2 separate regions of the Homo sapiens genome follow, and region 2 is linked to region 1. The links are contacts of gene promoters, found by promoter capture Hi-C in human tissues and cell types (Jung and others, 2019). All regions are on one chromosome and are shown on one strand. The core of a region is centred on a gene start or on the middle of the fragment in contact, and the rest is flanking DNA. Distances in the headings are between cores, read along the strand shown.

Region 1 (3,000 bases), core at 501-3,000:
TTTTGATTTTCTGCCAGTGCTTCCCATTGGTCAATCACAACAGGAAGCCACAGGTCAAAGGGGCCTAGTGATTTATCTGTAGGCATCCAAAGGCACGGCTTGGTAGAGAAGTAGAAACGATAGATTTGGGGAGGGAAACAGAAAATACTGCTGTTATAAATATTCTCTAGACCACAGGAAGTTAAAAAAAATTACTAGATTACAGGACAATTAAAAAATTCCCATAAATCTACCTTTCTAATACCACTTCCTTCTTATTCCCACATTTAACCTGCTGAGTGTTATCTCTGCCTAGCACTGGGGTGGGTAAACTTTTCCTGTAAAGCATATTTTAGACTTTGAGGCTTAAGAGGCAAGGTCGAAAATATTATGTCCTATTTATGTAGTGATTTGAAATGTAATTATTTGAACATATAAAAAACAGTCATTCAAATTCAGTGGCGTAGATTTGGCCTGTGGGCTATACTTTGCTACCCTCTGGCCTTGAAAGTCTTCTAAATTTTTGCTAGCCTAAAATCCACCTACTTTTCAATGTCAAGTTCAAATAAAACCTCCCCTACGTGGCCTCTCATACTGGGACTCTGAGCTGTGAGTGACAGAAAATCAACTATTACTAGCTTAAGCAAAACTGAGGATAAGTTGAGAGTTTGCGGGTTGTAGATCCCAGAATCCAGGAGTTGCTGAAATGCCAGCTGCTCTGGGGATATCCTGCTTTGCTACTGTGGTAACATCAGAACATGCCCTCTTCATCTCCCTTTCTCTTCTCTTTGCTTCTGTCTTCAGTTTGGCCTCATCATCTCCTAGAGGCAGATCTTTTCCACAAGAAACAGAATATGTAACTCTTTATGTACCCAGGAAAGTATTCTGTTTGACCTGTCTTGGTCACCCAGCCACCCTTCGATGAACCCATGTCGGTGGAGGAAGGGGGAAGAGTGATGGGGTAGTCTCGAGGTTCAGACATGGCACACGTTTGGGAGAGAAGCTCACCTCTGAGGAGTGGGGAAAGAGGCAGTTTCCCAAAAGGAGGATGCATTCTGTTGCCAGGAGATGAAACAGGAGAGGTTGTCTATTTTAGAGAGATAGAAATGTCACAATTACAATCCAATGTGTGCAGCGCTATAACAGAGATAAGTCTGACGCCTCGTTATCACCCACAGTACCTAACATCACACTTGGTAGACACATTCATGCGATTTTGATGAATGAATGACTCAGTTCTCCCAGCTGATTGTGTACACACTCTACTCCAAACTGGCCCAGAATTTTATCAGCTGCTCTTCATTCTGTACGTTGTATTTGGGGTTTTTATGGCCATCTACCATCTCTCCTCTAATTCCGGGTGCAAAAAGAGTGTATGAGAGAGAGGCAAGCATGCAGTAAACATCCTGTGTTAATCTCAATCCCAGAACCAGACCACAGAATGCTGACTACACCGCTCACGGGAAAGACTATGTTTTAGGTGACCCGTGTGGCCTTTTTGTTGAGGCCTTTAGGATACAAGGCCCCCACCTAAAGACGCGACCCTCCCGTAGGAGGGGGGCAGGGCCCGGGGGCGGGAGCACAGCGGGGCCCCAGCCTCAGGCGGCGCGTCACTGAGCACAAAGGAGACAACAGCGAGGCGGCAGCGGGCGCTGATCTTCGCTCGCCAGCCACTCGCAATTGCGGTTACAGACCTGCAGCTCCCCCTCCCCCAGCCGGCCCGCCCGCCTTTCTGTCTCCTCTCTCCCTCCGTACTGGACGGCCCCGGTCCATTTCCGGGCTCCGGATATTTGGTATCGATTGGGGCCGGGGACGCGGAGCAGGTGGCCGCGGCGGGGCAGCTGGGCCGCCAGCTTGGTGCCTCGGGGACCGTCTCCCGCTGCTTTGGTCACCAGCCCCTGCCCGCCCGACCCGCTCCGTTCTCCGGCCTGCGAGCCCTGCCGGCCGGACTTTGCGCCGCGTCCGGCGCTGCTGCTGCGCTCGGGGCCCCGCTCGGCGCCGGCGGTGACCGGGAAGCCCGCGTTAAAGGGGCAACCGGGACCCTGGCCCGGTATGGCTGAAGTCAGCATCGACCAGTCCAAGCTGCCTGGAGTCAAGGAAGGTAAGGGCCCCGGAGGGAGAGCGCGCGGGACCCTCCCCTCTCCCAGCCCGAGGTTCTCTCAGGTCAGGGGCGTTGCCATTTCGGCTCCCGCGGCCCTCGCCCGGTGCCCGCCCTGCGTTGGCCTTGCCCGGACGTGAAAGGAATTGAATTCAGGTTCTAGTGTGGGACGTTGGGCAAGTCTCCGACGTTCCAAGCCCGTTTTTTCTCAAGGGGGTGGTTGGGGGGGGGGGGGGCTAGCAGCAGCCCCAGCAAGTAGGTGGCTGTGCCCGTGTTCTCGTGCATCGCAAAGCCTCAGTGGACGCTGAGAGCCGGGTGAATCTGACTTACTCCGCTTCTAAAAAATCGAGGCCCAGCCTGGCTGGCTTGAAGGCTGGGAAGTGGAGAGGGGTTGACATTCAGTTCCGTGTGGAGCCTTTGTTTTGAAACATGACTCTTTCCCTCCTTCTCTCCCTACTTTTCCTAGGCCGGCGTCTGGCTGGCTGACTTTCCCACCTTCCTCAAGGTTTAAAAGTTTAGTCTTGGCTGTGTTCTGCGCGGGCGGGAAGCCACTATAAGCATTTTCTTACAAACAAAACACACACACACACACACACACACACACACACAATAGTGAGCGAGGGGAACAGGGGACTGATGGCCTTGTCATTGCTTTTTGTACCAATGTCCAGGAAAGTAGAGATTAGTACTGACCTGGCTTTAGCTGACAGCAAGTAGCCTTTTGACTTCCCTTCTCTTGTTTTTCCACTAGCTGCCTCAGGACCTAGCTTTTTTTTGCTGAGATCTTAGGTGCTGGATCGCCTTATGCCTTGAGTTATCTTTGTTTATTCTTTGGTCCTAGGAAGCATAGACGTTCCAGAGTGCTGACGCAGACCCCTAAGTTCCAAGGGCTTTGCAAAATCGGCTTCTGTTGTGAATGTCAT
Region 2 (2,831 bases), core at 286-2,785, 1.1 Mb after region 1:
TCTTTAGGAATAAAATTGGGTCATAGAGTTGATTTTAAAGTACCATAAGGAGCAGTTGTGCTACTCGAAATACAGTTTGACTCTGTCGTGGTTGCAAAGCCAATCTCAAAGCATTTCCCCCAGAATGCTGTTTATTAGTTTAAAACCCCTATGATCAGGATATTAAAAAAAAAACAAGAAAGATAATCTAACTCATGATGGCTTCTCTATCCATTTAATTGCGGTTAGCAGTACATTTATCCAACCGCTTTTCAGGTCTATGCGCATGTTTCTCAGTGGTGCTGTCTTAGCCATTGAAGGGTTTAAAGAGCACTGAAGAAAAAGTCAGGAGAACTGGCCTTAGGTCCCATTTTCACAATTATTCCATCTTTGACACTTTGGACAACTCCAGCTCCTATCCCCGTCTTGGTCTCATTTTCCTCAACAGGGTAAGTGATTTTACAGCTGTTCCAATGTTCTATGATCTATAAAGCATAAAGTCTCTATTTTCTACTTTAAACCACAAATCAGAAAGCTTTAGAAGAACATTCCAGGCTGTGAAGTTGGGGGAATATTCTGGGTTTATCTCAGATCTTTTTCATTTAGTGCAACACTAGTTTTTTTTAAAAAAACTTCATTTCTTTGACTGCTAAATGAAGAATGAATTTGTAATTACTGCTAAAGGAAATACAGTGAAAATTTTAATTCTGAAATTGAAAACTACTTAAAAGAGACAGGAGAGCTTAGCAAAAGCCTCTAAAAGAGCCTGGCCATCTGGCTTCTTACTCCCAGGACTGCTCACTGTGATAATCCCCAGGCTTGGTGATGTCCTGAACTTGCAAGTTTCGGGAAGTTGGCGATCCATTTTGACCATGTGGTATCACAGATAATGTACTGGAAACCCAATTTCTGGTCCCAGAACAGCATTGTTCGGCCAGCAGGCTATACATGAGCCTCCTGGGCCTTACTTTTCTCCTCTGTACCTAGTAACTTCCTTAGGTCTTTCTCTCTCAGAAATTCTGTTTTCTAAAAGGCAAGTTACTCTGAAGGATGAAACAGCTTTGCTTTTCTGATAAAGTATATCAAGCCTAAATCAAAATAAGCATTTCTTCTCCTGTTCTTCTGTTTGGGCTCTGAGGATACAATCTGCTTCTGTCGTTTTCCCAGTGCAGAGTAATTTTCAATGTGTTACCATGCTAAGCCTTGTTATCACATTTTCAGAAGCATAAATGATAAATAACATTTGCTTAACCAGCTTTTACAATTCCCTGGCATTTTTAAAAAGAATATTTATTTTGAAGAATATTTTTTGAAACAACACAATTTGAGGAAACCAACACACCACAGCGAATACGTCTACTTCTCTCAGTTAGCCCAAGCAATTCTCAAAGTTTTCTCCTCGTCTTTATTGAACACTCACTTCACGCCAGGCCTCGTGCTAGGGGTTGGAGCTCTGAAGGAAACAGAAGAACGTGACCTCAGGACAATACTGTCATAGTCCATGTCTACAAGAAGCTCACTCCCATTGTAGATGGTGATCCCACTTAAATTAATAAAGATGAGAAGCCTCCTGGGCCAAAAATTAGATACTTTGTTGTAGAGCAGTACCATACCAGAGAGGAACATTCACCTTCCTTTGCGCCTAGCTTTGCCTCTGGGATACAGTGGTACTGAGAATCAGAGCTTACTGCTGTAAATTAGGGGTTCTCAAATAGTCATACACAGCAGAATCAAGTGGAGGGCTTAGTAAAACACGGATCGCTGGGCCTTACTTCCAGATTTCCAATTCAAAAGGAGTCAAGAGATTTTAGTACTAGTGAGCTCCTGGGTGCTGCCGATGCTGCTGATGTGGGGCCCACAATTGGAAAACCTCCGTTGTAAACGAGCAATCATGAATAAGCTAATTTGTCTGGAGCAAGGCTTTGACTTCGGTAGTTTTACAAAGCTCTCCAGGTGTTTCTAAGGTGTATCCAGGCTGGACAGCCACTGGGTTAGATTGCACAATGTCAGTTTCCCAAAATAACTGCATGTTCAAGATACTTTTAAGATTATACATGTTTCTGAGTAGCCTGTCTGATCAACAATTTCTTGCCCTGTAGATTGAAATTCTAGGTGAAGTTATGCTTAAGGTGGCATTCCCAGAAAAAACTAGAACGCATCCCCCTTTTTTGGGTAGCTGACTATACGCAAACTGCTGTCTCCCAACACAGACTGTGTTCCAGTGCTGGAGAACACAAAGGTGGGAAGATATGAAAGGACACAAAGATTAATGTATGAAATTATCTACGTAAAAAATTTCTTGAGTGCTCACTCTATGCTGTGCCAAGAAACTCAGGCTTTTCTTTCTAAAAATTAGAGGCTATGGAGGTGTTTAAGGACGAGAGTGATATAGTCTGAATTGCATCTTATGAATGAATAGTGTATAATTCCTTAAAAGGTCTTGCAGCAAGAGAAGCCGGGTAGAAGGGGCATAGTTAAGTAAGCACAGGGGAGCAGGGAGAACTCTGGGAAAATGGAGGAAATAAAAGGCTAGCGACTAGAGGAAGTGCCTGTGATAGGATTGCAGACTACAAAAAAATACTAACAATACCACTCTCAAAATCATTAGGAAAATAGAAATACTATCATCTTTGTTAAAGAAGTTCATCAAATACAAGGAGCTAACAAAAAATGCTATTTGTGTAGAGAACTAGTTGAGAGGTAGCATCGCCTTTTAGCCAGAAGGTTTAAGGAAGTCAGTGGAATGTGTAAGAGTGAGCAAACTGGCCAGGCGCCGTGGCTCACGCCTGTAATCCCAGCACTTTGGGAGGTCAAGGTGGGTGGATCACAAGGTCAGGAGTTCAAAACCAGCC

What was found. The method cuts DNA at HindIII sites, captures the fragments that hold promoters and counts their contacts. A contact is called where the count stands out against the background at its distance.
Region 2: a fragment that was not itself captured here is called in contact with the fragment with the promoter of CCDC50 in region 1 in 1 of the 25 tissues and cell types used here (dorsolateral prefrontal cortex).

The regions. Positions count from the first base shown.
Region 1 is chr3:191,327,644-191,330,643 of GRCh38, forward strand. CCDC50 (coiled-coil domain containing 50) reads left to right here and starts at 1,751. Exons shown (of 12, transcript NM_178335.3): 1 at 1,751-2,080. The coding sequence starts at 2,032. UTS2B (urotensin 2B) reads right to left here and starts at 2,883. Exons shown (of 9, transcript NM_198152.5): 1 at 2,771-2,883; 2 at 988-1,066. RefSeq lists enhancers at 1,318-1,919, 1,920-2,520 and silencers at 1,447-1,526, 1,627-1,906. The HindIII fragment of the contact is 10,513 bases long and covers 1-3,000 here.
Region 2 is chr3:192,434,668-192,437,498 of GRCh38, forward strand. All of the region lies in intron 2 of FGF12 (fibroblast growth factor 12), which reads right to left. Among named protein-coding and RNA genes, the nearest start is that of FGF12-AS2, 79 kb to the right of the region's middle. The HindIII fragment of the contact is 4,564 bases long and covers 1-2,831 here.